3 separate regions of the Homo sapiens genome follow, and regions 2 and 3 are each linked to region 1. Evidence: promoter capture Hi-C in 16 types of primary human blood cells and fetal thymus (Javierre and others, 2016). All regions are on one chromosome and are shown on one strand. Each heading gives the region's core, a stretch centred on a gene start or on the middle of the fragment in contact. The rest is flanking DNA. Distances are from core to core; before and after follow the strand shown. Region 1 holds the start of BID (BH3 interacting domain death agonist). Region 2 overlaps MICAL3 (microtubule associated monooxygenase, calponin and LIM domain containing 3). Region 3 overlaps ATP6V1E1 (ATPase H+ transporting V1 subunit E1).

The links. Contacts are between HindIII fragments. The CHiCAGO score rates a contact against its expected background, and 5 or more counts as called.
Region 2: a contact is called between a fragment that was not itself captured here and the fragment with the promoter of BID in region 1, in 7 of 17 cell types (naive CD8 T cells, total B cells, total CD8 T cells and 4 more). The highest score is 7.3, in naive CD8 T cells.
Region 3: a contact is called between a fragment that was not itself captured here and the fragment with the promoter of BID in region 1, in 1 of 17 cell types (total B cells). The highest score is 5.9, in total B cells.

Annotation. Positions count from the first base shown.
Region 1 is chr22:17,771,660-17,776,247 of GRCh38, forward strand. BID (BH3 interacting domain death agonist) reads right to left here and starts at 2,810. Exons shown (of 6, transcript NM_001196.4): 1 at 2,722-2,810. RefSeq lists an enhancer at 139-278 and silencers at 2,319-2,648, 2,679-2,748, 2,769-2,818, 2,839-2,938. The HindIII fragment of the contact is 11,451 bases long and covers 187-4,588 here.
Region 2 is chr22:17,996,023-18,000,610 of GRCh38, forward strand. The region is part of intron 1 of MICAL3 (microtubule associated monooxygenase, calponin and LIM domain containing 3); the gene reads right to left. Among named protein-coding and RNA genes, the nearest start is that of MIR648, 17 kb to the left of the region's middle. RefSeq lists an enhancer at 419-618. The HindIII fragment of the contact is 1,752 bases long and covers 2,463-4,214 here.
Region 3 is chr22:17,593,716-17,598,303 of GRCh38, forward strand. It overlaps ATP6V1E1 (ATPase H+ transporting V1 subunit E1), which reads right to left. Exons shown (of 9, transcript NM_001696.4): 7 at 4,479-4,573; 8 at 814-901. Among named protein-coding and RNA genes, the nearest start is that of SLC25A18, 33 kb to the left of the region's middle. The HindIII fragment of the contact is 2,631 bases long and covers 1,044-3,674 here.

The DNA.
Region 1 (4,588 bases), core at 1,560-4,059:
CTTTGTGGCCTGTTTGCCATTTATGTGAAACTTCCCCATTTTGGACCAACGCAGGCAGAAAGAGAAAAGGAGGAAGAGGAAGGAAAAGAGGCAGGCTGTGTTGGGGCTGGATGGGGCTGTAGGAACCTGCCAGCAGTGGCTCTTGGGGAAAACCCCACTGCGAGGTTTCTGAACCCCTGCCCCGGAAGCTTCCCCTTTCCCACACACGTCACTCGCTGCCTTGGAATCTGGGCTGCCTCCCTCCCAGGGGCTCACAGGGGAGCGAGGCCACAGAAAGGCTCCTTACCCCCAGTGGCCTAACAGGTGTGACATGTGGAGGGGGAATCTGGGCAGTGTGCCTGATGCTCAGAGCTGAGACCCTGAAGTCCAACTCCCTCGGGTGTGACCTTGGACAAGTTACTTAGCCTCTCCTTGCCTCAGTTACACCATCTGGAGAATGGGGATGCTACCCTCGTCTGACCACCGTGATGTGAGCCAGTCAGCACACATCAAGTGCTCCGTGAGCGTCCGGCACACAGGTGCTTGTCTCTGTCCTGTGCTTCAGCTCCATCAGTGTCTTCTTCAGACCTGTCATTGGCTTGGGGCAAGGATATATGTGGCCGCTGAGGGCGGTCCGCCAGGTATGGCAGCCATGGAGCTGCTAATTAGGCCCTGTGAGTGGGAGGCCCTGTGGGGTGGGCAGGGGCAGACGCCCAGCTGCTCTCGGGGACACTCCAGGCCTGTGCTGCCCTCCACAGCCCCAGCTGGAGAATGGTGACCAGATGTCAACGACAGGAAGCATTTCCAGAGGCCACAGCTCTGCAGGGAGGTCTCTCATGGGCTGACAGCCAGAGCCAGCGCTCCGGGTCCCCTGAAAAAACGGGCACAGTCCTCGGTCACGTCGAGGACCTGCTCAGCCCCTCCACTTGGCACCGGAGAGAGGATGACTCACGGCCCTTCTGCCTGGAAGGCAGGCTCCAGTGTCAAATGTCCATCCGCCTCCATCACCCTCATCCATCCTTGTCAGTCCAGGGGCCTGGGCACTGCTGGGGCTCCTGGGCAGACAGTTCCCCCTTGCAAATGAGTGGGACCCTCAGCTCCTTCGATCAGCATCCTCACGTCAGCCGAGCCTGTGAGCACCCCTAAGCAAGGCCTCTGAGCTGGGCATGCGACACCCCTTCCCACCCAGGCACCCTCCCCCTAGAATCCCCCATACCACCCTGGGGCCATGCCCCGCTTCCCTCTCTGGCAAGCTCCTGCACAACCTTGAGACCACCTGACAGCCACCGTCTATCCTGCCCAACCTCCTCAGAAGCACTAACAGCACCTCGCCCCAGCCACGGCAGGTCTCTGCACCCCTCGTCTCAGTCACCACTCTCACATCTCATGAACAGAGACACGAGCTGCTTCCTCATGCTCCCTGTGCCCGTCCTGGGAGATCCCTGCCTTTAAACCCCAGCCACGAACTGCTGACCCCGCATTTCCTCTTCCCTCCCTGGGCAAGAGGGGCAGAAGGGGCAGGGACGCACACCCTGGGCCGCAGGCAGAGGCTTGGCCAGGGTCGTCCTCCCGGCAGTGCCTCCCTGGAGCTCTGTCTACCTCAACTCCTGATGCCAGAGGATCCCTCTGCGCTCCCCACACCCTTAAGACCCCAGCTCAGGGAATCTGGTCTCGGTCATCACTCCCAGGGGACTGCAGGGCCCCAGGACGGCACACATTCAGGCCCAGGAGAGCTCCCCCCATCTCAAAGCCTCCTGTGGGTGGAGATGGAATGTGGAAAAACCGCATCCTCTGCAGCTCCCCCACAGTGAGAGCGAGGACTGAGGGTGTGGATAAGGCTCCAGGAAGGGGGTGCAAGCCTGAGAAGGTGGAAGAGCTCTGGGTGGGTCCATCTGCTCCTCACCTGCCCCAACCCTGCCTGCAGGTGAAGGCCGGTCCAGCCGCAGAAGGCCCAGCCCCCAGCCCACTTACAGAATCCGCACTGTGCTCCTCCAGCCGGCCCGGCCCCTCGCTGCCCACCGAGCCATCATGACCCCAGCACCGCTGCACATTCGTATTTGTTGAATGAATGAATGAACCCTTGCCAGCCCAGCCACTTGGTGGCTGAGGGCTTCAGAGCTCTCCCAGGGTCCCCTGGGGTCATTCAGCCACTCAACAGTTTCCCAGCAGCAGCAGCGAGGATCCGCACATCATTGCCAGTGCTCTAAGGAGCGGGCGAGCCCCAGTAAGCGGCCGCTCTGACCGCGCTTTGTCAGCCCTGAGCTCCGCTCGGGAGGAGCCGGCAGGTGTCTGCGGTGCTGGAAAGACCACGGTGTGGGCGGGGATTCCGATCCGCCGGCAAGGGTGGCCTGCACCCGGCCAGGCCCGCGGGTTTTCTCCTCTCCGGGGCTGGCCTCGGCCCCTCCCCCTCCCCGCGCCCCGCACCCCTCCCCTGAATCCCCAGGCCACGTGGAGAGGACACAACAAAGCCTTCCCCGCCTCCGAGGCGGACCCGACCCTCAGCACCGACCTGCCGGCCGCGCCGAGGAGGGCGCCCGGGCGGAGGGGAGGCGGGAGAGACCCGGCCCTCAGGTCGCTGCTGAGGCCTGGGGCTCTGACCCCCCGCCTCCCCTCCTCTGGCTCCCACCGCGGTCGGGCCCAGGGCGGGCGGCGGGCCCTGAGCTCCACGCCGGGGCAGGCGGCAGGCAGGGGTCACGGGCTGGGGCTCGGCGCGTACCCCGGGAGGGGCGCGGGTGCACTCACCACCCTCCAGCCGCGGGGGCGCGGGCGCGTCCGGGCCGAGGCAGCGTCTCCCAGGCGCGCGGACACGGTCGACTACCCGCTTCCTCCTTATGGCGCCCCGCGCGCTTCCTCCTTCGGCCCCCCACGCCCGGGCCCGCCCCGGCCCGCCCCGGCCCGCCCCCGGCGGCTTGCGGGGACCCGGGGAGCCCGCGCCGGCGCGGGGCTGTGGAGCGGGGCGGGGAGCCGGCAGCGCAGTGAGAACCAGGCTTTCCACCCTTACCCCTTACGCGACTGTTTCAGACAGTGTCGTCCAACTTTAAGTTGGCCACTTACTCCAGCGCCGCTGGGATAATTCCTAATGATTCTCTGGGAAACATTCAGAATCCCCAGGCTGTTTCTGGAACAGTCTGGGGTGGTCATTCTAGGTCCTCACGGAACCAGGGGTTTGGAAAGTGGGTGAAGCCATGTGGGTTGCAGAGAATCTGGCCCAGCCCCTCACCAGTCCCTGTGCTTGTTGTTTATTCTTTAATTATTTGGATATCAACTCTGATTTAAAACATCAGTTTAACATATAGATAATGCTGGGACTACAGGCGCACACCACACCCAACTAATTTCTTTTTCAGTTTTTAGTGGAGGTGGTGGGGGGGGGGTCTCCACCTCTGGAGGTCTCAGGCTGGTCTCGAACTCCTGGGCTCCAGCGATGCTTCCCACCTCGGCCTCCCAAGGTGCTGGAATGACAGGCCAGTCCATGCATCCCCGGATGCAGCTCTCACCGGCAGTGCTGCTGCAGAGCCCTTTGTGGGCGTCTTCACTTCTCTTGAGTGTGATACCTAGGAGTGGAAATGCGAATCATAGGGCTGGACGAGCTTCATGGTATTAAAAACTGCCTGCTTTCCAAGGTGATGCACACCGTTCGGCACTTCCACCAGCCCTGTTGGAGCGTCCAGTTGCTCTGCGCCCTCGCGTGGGCTCACTCCCTGAGCCCACTGTGGCTCCTCCAGACGCCCTCACTTCTACCCGGGCTCCCTAGACTCTTGCCTCTTTTATAAAAGGTCAGAGGATGTCACTCACGCTTTAACATCCTCTGAATAAAAGCCAAGTTCCTTTCAGTGGCCCGCAGAGTCCCACGCGACCTGCCCTGCTCTAAGCAAATCCTACCCTGTCCCTGTTCCTCCTCGGCAGCCCCATGGCCTCTGGCTTTCACCAGGCCTCACTTCATTTTCCTCCACAGCCAGCATCGCAGCATGACATACCACGGAGTCGTTTGTGTGTGTGTTGCCTACCTCCCCTCTCGGAATGTAGCCTCCACGAGGACAGGGGCTTGTTTCCTGCATGCTCTTCACTCGGGCTGGGCACTCTGGGGGGCTAACAAATGGAAGATCCTGTGAGCAGGGAAACCGTCAGATGGCATTAGGGGCCGGTGCCCTGCAGAAGACGAAAGGGAAACTTCATGGACTGAGGCCAGGTCATCTGCAGGGTGGTGTTCAAATTCATGGTACAATGTCAGCAGGCGCCCAGATGGGAAAAGAGAGGGACGTGCACCTGGGCACAAGAAGCTGCAGGGGCCCCTCCCAGGGCAGGCGAGAGCTTGGACAGTGGGGCACAGTGGGCAAGAGGCCAGTGGGGTGGCCTGAAGGCAGGAGGCTCCAGCAGCCTGGATGAGCAGTTGGATTTTATCCTCAGCACTGTGGGGGCCACTGGCCCTGTCATGCAGGGCAGGACCTGTACCAATTGGCCCCCACAGTCTCTGCCTCTCCTGTTGGCTTTTTGCAGGTCTCTCAAGTGCTTCTTACAGTCAGGGTAGAGCCTCCCCGCCTCAATCCTCCCTGTCCTGATCTGCTGCCTCTATGATGCTTTGGGCTTCAAAATCTGTCTGCAGTATTTG
Region 2 (4,588 bases), core at 2,089-4,588, 220 kb after region 1:
TTGGTGGTGCACGCCTGTAGTCTCAACTACTCAGGCAGTCAAGGTTGCAGTGAACCATGATCGCACCACTGCACTCCAGCCTAGGTGGCAGAGTGAGATGCTGTCTCAATTTAAAAAAAAAAAAAAAAAAAAAAAGGCTGGGCACAGTGGCTCACACCTGTAATCCCAACACTTTGGGAGGCCGAGGCCAGTGGATCACAAGGTCAGGAGATCGAGACCATCCTGGCTAACACGGTGAAACCTTGTCTCTACTAAAAAAAAAATACAGAAAATTAGCCGGGCATGGTGGCAGGTGCCTGTAGTCCCAGCTACTCGGGAGGCTGAGGCAGGAGAATGGTGTGAACCCGGGAGGCGGAGCTTGCAGTGAGCCGAGGTCGTGCCACTGCACTCCAGCCTGGCCCACAGAGCAAGACTCCATCTCAGAAAAAAAAAAAAAAATGCAATCAACTGCAAGGCTTGGGGTGACAGTTTCCTGGTCATTCTTCCCAGTTTTTTTGTGTCTTTATAGCTAGAGATGACTAAAGCCCACCTCCAAGAAAACAGCAAGTCACGTACAACTGAAGCCCATGGGGGCAGGATGCTGTTCTCTCCACCGGGGCAATCCAAGCACCTGAGTGTCTGACACCACCCATCACCCAGGGGATCCGAGCTGAATTCTAAAGACTGGAACCAAAGATGACAGAGTGCGTGGCTGGAGAGAGGGGGAAGTCCACAGAGTTTAGGTAAATTTCTGAACCACATCCCCACCACGCCCACAATGTACTGCATTGAAGTACACCGGAAGCTAAAGACCAAAAAGGAATCAGATTTTCAGCTCTGCCACCTAAAGCAGAAACTGAGGGCCTTATTCACCGCACAGACTTTAGCCCAAGTGCCATGCCTCCAGTTTCACAGTTTCACCAGCAGCTCAAGCAAAATGGCCTGGACACTAAAGATGGCCTCTGGGTCAGAGTATCACTCATTTCCTCTGTCCACAAACCACTTTGATTCTCTTTGATTCTCTCTGTCCCTCATCTCCCCATCTAGTCTTTTTTTTTTTTTTTTTTTTTTTGAGACAGAGTCTTGCTCTGTCACCCAGGCTGGAGTGCTGGAGTGCAGTGGTGTGATCTCAGCTCACTGCAACCTCGGCCTCCTGAGCGCAGGCAATCCTCCCACCTCAGCCTCCAGAGTAGCTGGGACCACAGGTACACACCACCACGCCCAGCTAATTTTTGTACTTTTTGTAGAGATGGGGTTTAGCTATGTTGCCCAGTCTGCTCTCAAACTACTGGGCTCAAGCAATCTGCCCACCTCAACCTCCCAAAGTGTTGGTATTACAGGCATGAGCCACTGCGCCCGGCCCATCTGGTCTTATTAAATACTTCATTCTCTGCAAATGCAGACGTTTTCTCAGCTCTGATTATTTTTTCTAAAGTAATGACCCCCCACCTGGCTAGATGAATGCTTCTAGCAAAGGAAAAGACCAGAATGTGAAAATTGTACTGCAATAGAACATAAAGCCCGTCCAACCCCACCTCCCATCAGACCTGGGGTGGTGGCAGCAGCAGGCGTCAGGGCTCTCAGGCCTGCCCATTAGTCATCCCTAAGGCCCGTTAGCACACGGGTTAGGAGGAGCACACACTCTGGAATCAGAAAGCCCAGGATTGAACCCAGCCCTGCTTTCAGTCAAGGCTTTGTCACTCACTATCACTCCCTTGACCTAGGACCTCACAAAACCTTGTCATCCGTAAAACTGGGGATGATAAGTTCTACCTTGAATGTTGTTGTGAGGAATAAATGAGGTAATGTCTATGCAGCACCTAGCACAGATTCCTGCAGATAAACACTCAATAAATGTTAACTATCATCCACTACCTAGTCATCAGAAAAGCACAATGATCTGGTATCTTTAAGTCCTTCCGCTTCCAAAAAAAAAAAAGAAAAGAAAAAAGAAAAAGATGTGTGGATTTTTTCCCCCTAAAGGTCTCAGTGAAGTGAAACTTAAGAAGGAAAACCTGGGCCGGGTGTGGTGGCTTACGCCTGTAATCTCAGCACTTTGGAAGGCCAAGGAGGGTGAATCACCTGAGGTCAGGAGTTCGAGACCAGCCTGACCAACACGGTGAAACCCTGTCTCTACTAAAAAATACAAAAAATTAGCAGGGCGTGGTGGCAGGTGCCTGTAGTCCCAGCTACTTGAGAGGCTGAGGCAGAAGAATCGCTCGAACCCAGGAGGCAGAGTGCATGAGCCAAGACTGCGCCATTGCACTCCAGACTGGGCGCGACAGAGCAAGAGACTCCGTCTCAAAAAAAGAAGAAGAAGAAGAACCCAATTCAAATCCCAGTTCAGGGACCAACTCATTTGCAACTTAAAGCAAATCATGTTACCTCCATTTCTTTGCCTATAAAATGGGAATAATAGACTCTATTAAACTTTAACGACTTCAGAGACAATTAAGAATCAATGAGATAACAGGTCATGAAAAAGCTTTCACTTCCTCAAGTAAAAAGCAACTAAGTAGTAAATCCAGAGCATAATAATAATAATAATTATTATTATTATTATTTTTTTTTTGAGATGAAGTCTCGCTCTGTATCCCAGGCTGGAGAGCAGTGGCGTGATCTTGGCTCACTGCAACCTCCACCTCCCAATTCCCGGTTAAGCAATTCTCCTGCCTCAGCCTCCCCAGTAGCTGGGATTACAGGCGCGCACCACCACGCCCAGCTGGTATTTTTAGTACAAACAGGGTTTCACCACGTTGGCCAGGCTGGTCTTGAACTCCTGACCTCGTGATCCGCCCGCCTGGCCTCCCAAAGTGCTGGGATTACAGGTGTGAGCCACCGCGCCGGGCCCAGAGCATAATTATTATTAAAATGCCAGGCCCCATAATATTATGGAACATAAATAAGCCAATGATGGCTCTTATTTTTTCTAGAACATTAGATTTGATGCCCTTTTCGTCTGTTCACATGGAACCTGCTACAAGACGGAGAAGGCAAATGGCTGCTCCTAGCAGATCCCAGTTCAGAGGCACGGCCCAGCAAAGCTAGCACTCTGCCAATGGTCAGGCTTCGACCATCTGGGCCACTTCCCAGAAGCCAGTGCCAGGAGAAATTAGGTAATTCATCTGGTTCCACCTGGACATGTGAAACCAACGACAACCAAAATCCTCACCTGCAGGACTACTCGACAGATGCAGGAAAGGGTCCCCTTTGACCCTCTGCTCTTCTGTACTGAATGGTGTACCACTCTTCCAGGGCATGTGCCATCCTTCCTTTAAAGGGCAACACATGATCCAGGAAGAAGAGCTCAATTTTTCCTTATTTTTACTTCTAGGACCAAGACGTGAGTTTCATTTTTAATCTACCACAGAAATGTCTGGAGAGCTGGAAGTTTGAGTGGGAGGAGGAATGGGGGGGACCTCATTACCCTAATTTAAAAACGGAGCATGCAACCAAAACTGCATCCAATATCATCATCCCCAGGTCTCTCAAACCCAAGGAAGAGAGGAAAAATTTACTTTTATGTTTATTGAACATCTGCTACGTGCCAAGGACTGTGCTAAGTTCTTCACGTACATTATTTCCAAAGCCCATTTTCTCTTCCACACCTAGTAACACCATGGAATAACCACCACGGAACAGGATCATCCCAGGTGGGGGTTTGGGGGGAGGAATTACAATATGCAGTCAAGTTTAAGACGTTTCAAATGTTAGCGCTGTAAACACAAATAAACAGCCTTGACTGAGGAACCAGGTCTGAGTTCTAAAGTATCCTTTACAGGAGGAACACACAAACCATGTCTTTCCTATAATTATGAAATTAACTCAAGCTGTTGAATACACTATAAAAGAGATTTAAAACTTCTAAACCTGGAGCACAAGAAAAACTCACTATAAGACTTGAACAATCTGGGGCTGGATTTCTGACCTGAGAAGTACATCTGGCAATCAAATATGGAATGAACGGCATCCTCTGAGAGGGCTGCAGAGATGTGCTCACGGGAGAAGGTAACCACAATGAACTGGCCTGTGTGCGGCCAGGTAACCAGAAGGCGGGGCTTTCCCGCAGGCGGCAGCGACTGTAGGAAGATGTCTTTCTCAGCTTAAAACCCAGTTCATCCTCATCCCTGGAGTACAACGACTGTCTATGGAGCAAAGTGTCAGATGGGACCAAATACACATTGGTGGCCTGATATTCAAATGTCATCCTCTCCATGCACATCCCACTAAAAACAAGCTTAGGGGGAAAAAAAAAAAAAAAGCTGTCCACCTGTCCACAGTTGACCTTCATTCCTCTACATCAACCCGTTTCACATAAATCACAATTAACATCTGCATTAAACACCATTAAAAGAACACAAATGTGGTTTGAACTCTTGGACATACTTTCTCTGCATTCAGAGTCAGGAAGACCAGCCAAGATACGGGGCTGGTCCCCGCCCCTTAACGGGATGCGGCACAGAGGCCTTGCCTGAGGGGCCTGCCAGACCCCTTCGTCCCGGCTACCTACTGAGCAAGCGGGGTGGCGGCTCACCAGTGCCGCATGCCAGGCGGAGGGTCTCGCTGCGGCTGGCTTTCTGCTAGGCCAGGCAAGCCCGGTTCCGTGTAG
Region 3 (4,588 bases), core at 1,109-3,608, 180 kb before region 1:
CATAAACAGTAAACTGCATATCTAGGTCAGGGAATAACTAGGTTGGCAGCCACAGCAATAGACTCCCACTAGAAGTCTAGAAGATGCCCAGCATTTTAGAACAAATGGAATTTTCCTGGCTTGTTTCCTAGAGTTCCTGTGTACAAATCTGGAAACATCTGAAAAGCCAGCAGCTTTATGATAATTCCTTTAAATAAGTATTTGTGTCTGAGCACGGTGGCTCACACCTGTAATCCCAGCACTTTGGGAGGCCAAGGCGGGTGGATCACCTGAGGTCAGGAATTTGATAACAGCCTGGCCAACATGGTGAAACCCCGTCTCTACTAAAAATACAAAATTAGCCGGGTGTGGTGGCAGGTGCCTGTAATCCCAGCTACTCGGGAGGCTGAAGCAGGAGAATCGCTTGAACCTGGGAGGTGGAAGTTGCAGTGAGCCAAGACTGCACTCCAGCCTGCGCAAAAAAGAGTGAAACTCCATCTCAAAAAAGCAAAACAAAACAAAAAAACACAAGTATTTGCTTTAGTTCCCATCACTCCTGTTAGAGAAAGAACTTGTCAGCACCTTACATGTAGTAAAATGTACATATTCGAATCCTAGGTCAACAAAACACTTGTTCTGACCCCAAATTCACCCTCATGTAAATGTTACCACCTCAGCAAATGCTACTACATGCCCAATTCTCATTCTTTTTGAGAAAATGTCCAAAACTGGAAAGACAGCAACAAATCCCAAATACCAGTGAATGGACACGTGTTCTCTGTCCCACTTCAAAGTAACAGCAGACCAACTACCAAGAAGTACCCCCACACTCACCTGCTGGGCTATGAGATCCAGCCGGCTTTCCAGGGTGTTGGAAACCTTTATTTTACGATCTCCATTATAGATCTCAACTCCACCAGCTCTGCAAAAAAAAAAGCACAGGAAATAATCATTTTCAAAGACTTGAGAAAGATACATGGTACCCTTTACTCCCGCAGAGGAATGCCCTTGTCTTGGTGTGTAGACTGCGCAACCTAAGCAACAGGCTTGAAAGGAACTGAAAAAGCTTCTGAAGATGTAACGCACAGTTGGTTTCAGGAAACCCCAGTCCCCGCCTAGATGTCCATTATATGAAACAGCGTAGTATTTGCATACAACCATCACACATCCTCCCCTATATTGCAAATCATGTCTACAGCACTTAAAATAGCTAATACGATGTAAATGGTTGTTATACCGTAGTGTTTAGGGAGTGAAAAGAAAAAGTTGGTTGAATTCACAGGTGTGGACCCCAAAGATACAGAGAACTGACTGTATTCATCTCAATAACTGTCATTTACCAAGTGACACTATGTGTCAATTTGTTTTGTTTTTTTTGAGACTCGCTCTGTTGCCCAGGCAGGAGTGCAATGGTGCGATCTTGGCTCACTGCAACCTCTGCCTCCCGAGTTCAAGCAATTCTCCTGCGTCAGCCTCCCCAGTAGCTGGGATTACAGGCACCTGCCATCACGCCTGGCTAATTTTTGTATTGTTGTAGAGACGGGGTTTCACCATGTTGGCCAGGCTGGTCTTGAACTCCTGACCTCAGGTGATCCGCCCACCTCTGCCTCCACAAGTGTTGGGATTACAGGAGTGAGTCACCGCGCCCAGCCTGTGTCAATTTGATTTTATGTTACAAAACCTGTTTTAATTATCACAGCCAGCCCTCCCCAACAAAATGAAAAAGAGAGGATTTCATCTCAGTTTGCAAATCACTCAATCCTCATCTGAATGTTTTCTTAAGCCCAATCCTGCTCATTACTGATGAGGCCCTATCACGACTGCATGTGTGTCTGATAAAAGATGCCACTGCTGGCCGGGCGTGGTAGCTCACCCCTGTAATCCCAGCACTTTGGGAGGCCGAGGTGCTCCCAAACTCAAGTTTGAGGCCAGCCTGGCCAACATGGCGAAAGCCTGTCTCCACTAAAAATACAAAAATTAGCTGGGCATGGTGGGGCGTGCCTGTAGTCCCAGCTACTTGAGAGACTGAGGCAGGAGAATTGCTTGAACCCAGGAGGCAGAGGTTGCAGCAAGCCGAGATCACACCACTGCACTCCAGCTTGGGTGACAGAAAGAGACCCTTACTCAAAATACAACAACAACAACAAAAAAAGAGGCTGGGTGCGGTGGCTCACGCCTGTAATCCCAGCTCTTTGAGAGGCCGAGGTGGGCAGATCACGACATCAGGAGATTGAGACAATCCTGGCTAACAAGGTGAAACCCCGTCTCTACTAAAAATACAAAAAAAATTAGCGAGGCATGGTGGCGGGTGCCTGTAGTCCCAGCTAATCGGGAGGCTAAGGCAGGAGAATGGTGTGAACCTGGGAGGTGGAGCTTGCAGTGAGCCGAGGTCGTGCCACTGCACTCCAGCCTGGGTGAGAGTGAGACTCTGTCTCAAAAAATAAATAAATAAATAAATAAGATAAAAAATGCTATGAGGTTAGTGCTAATACGTCAATTTACAGATAAGGGAATCAGGGCTCACTACTATGGTTTGAGTCTGTTCCCTCAGAAACTAATGGTGAAATTTGATTCTCAATGTGGCAGTGTTGGGAGGTGGAGCATAGTAGGAGGTGTTCAGGGCTCAAGGGCAGATCCCGAGGCAATGAACTGTGGCGAGGGCCTGGATTCTAGCTCCGGCAGGACTCGACTGTGAGCAGAGGGTGGGCTGGTATGATAGGGAGTCTGGTTCCCTAGGCTCTCTGGCCTCCTCTCTCGCCATGTGGTCTCTATGCACACACCCACTCCCCTTCCACCTTCTGCCATGAGTGGAAGCAGCCTGAGGCCCTCACCAGATGCAGCTGTCCAATCTTGAACTTTCCAGCCATGAGAATCATGAACCAAATAAACCTCTTTTCTCCATGAATTACCCAGCCTCGGGTATTCTGTTATAGCAACACTAAATGGACGACACCACTCAATGAAACTGAATAAACGAGTCCAAGATTACCCAGGTAGTAAGTGGCAGAATCAGGAATCTAACCCAACTCTGACAGCATATCTTATGAGTTTATATACTTTTTCCATTTACAGAGCATTTTCACATGTACTATCTCATCTTTTTTTCTTCACTGCATGAAACAAAAAAGCAAAAAGCAATGATCCTATTTTACATATGATGAATTCAGTCTCCAGGTCCCATAGTAGCAAAAGGCCAAGATAGGACTCAAATCTAGGTCTTACATTCCTAAGTGTGATAATCAGCTAACTTCAAAATGTGTCCAAGGCACCAGGCATGGTGGCTCACGCCTGTAATCCCAGCACTTTGGGAGGCCGAGCGGGCAGATCACGAGGTCAGGAGATCGAGACCATCCTGGCTAACACAGTGAAACCCCATCTCTACTAAAAATACAAAAAAATTAGCTGGGCGTGGTGGCAGGCGCCTGTAGTCCCAGCTACTCAGGAGGCTAAGGCAGGAAAATCGCTTGAACCTGGGAGGCAGAGGTTGCAGTGAGCCAAGATCATGCCACTGTACTCCAGCCTGGGTGACAGAGTGAGACTGCCTGTCTTAAAAAAAAAAAAAAAGTGTCCAAGGTACTTTCTTCAATGTTAGTCAGTAGTGTGGCTAGGTGGCCTCAGACAGGCCAGTGAAATCGAGAAAATGACACTGGCTCTCCCCTTGTCAGGAGTTTCTACTGCCTACCCCAGCTACACAAAGCTTGTTAGGAACACTGATCCCAGAAATGTTCTGTCATTTCCTCACAGTCATAAAAATACCACTCATACTTGCAATTCTATCTCTAAGGAACCTAACTACCAGGCATACACAATTCTTGTTTTGATAACTATTACTTAGAAGAAGGGAGTATCTACCTCAGCATCCAATACAGAGATCTGGTCCTAGCTTTCATTCTGGGGGCCACCTCCCCGCAGAAGGAAAGCAGTGACCATAAACCAGACTTTTTTTTTTCTGAGATGCAGTCTTGCTCTGTCGCCATACTGGAGTCCAGTGAGTGGCGTGTTCTTGGCTCGCTACAACCTCCACCTCCTGGATTCAAGCAATTCTCCTGCCTCAGCCTCCTGGGTAGCTGGGACTACAGGCGTGCGCCACCACGCTCAGCTAATTTTTGTATTTTTAGTAGAGACAGGACTGGACTATGAGCAGAGGGTGGACTGGTATGATAGGGAGTCTAGCTCCCTAGGCCATGTTGGTAAGGATGGTCTCGATCTCTTGACCTTGTGATCCACCTGCCTCAGCCTCCCAAAGTGTTGGGATTACAGGCGTGAGCCACCGCACCTGGCCAAACTAGACTTTTAGAGTATATTTAGCCAGCCAACAAGGGAGAGCAAGAGAGCACTGCGAGAACAACAGGAACGGCTGCAAGTAGAATACACCACAGCTCTAGCCTTGTGTCTAAGAGTGCGTTTAAATGGTGAAAATACCATTTAAAAAAGGCCTGGTATAAAGGCCACTCTCCCAGGGAGAGAAGGTAGCTGTTAGCAGCAGGAATACTCCTTACATGTCTTCAGGCAGGTAGGACTCCTGGTCAATTTGGACATCAACATCGTTTTTGGTGGCAATTTTGTACATAGGAATTGCCTTCTGCACTGCAGCCTGGAAGTATAGAAC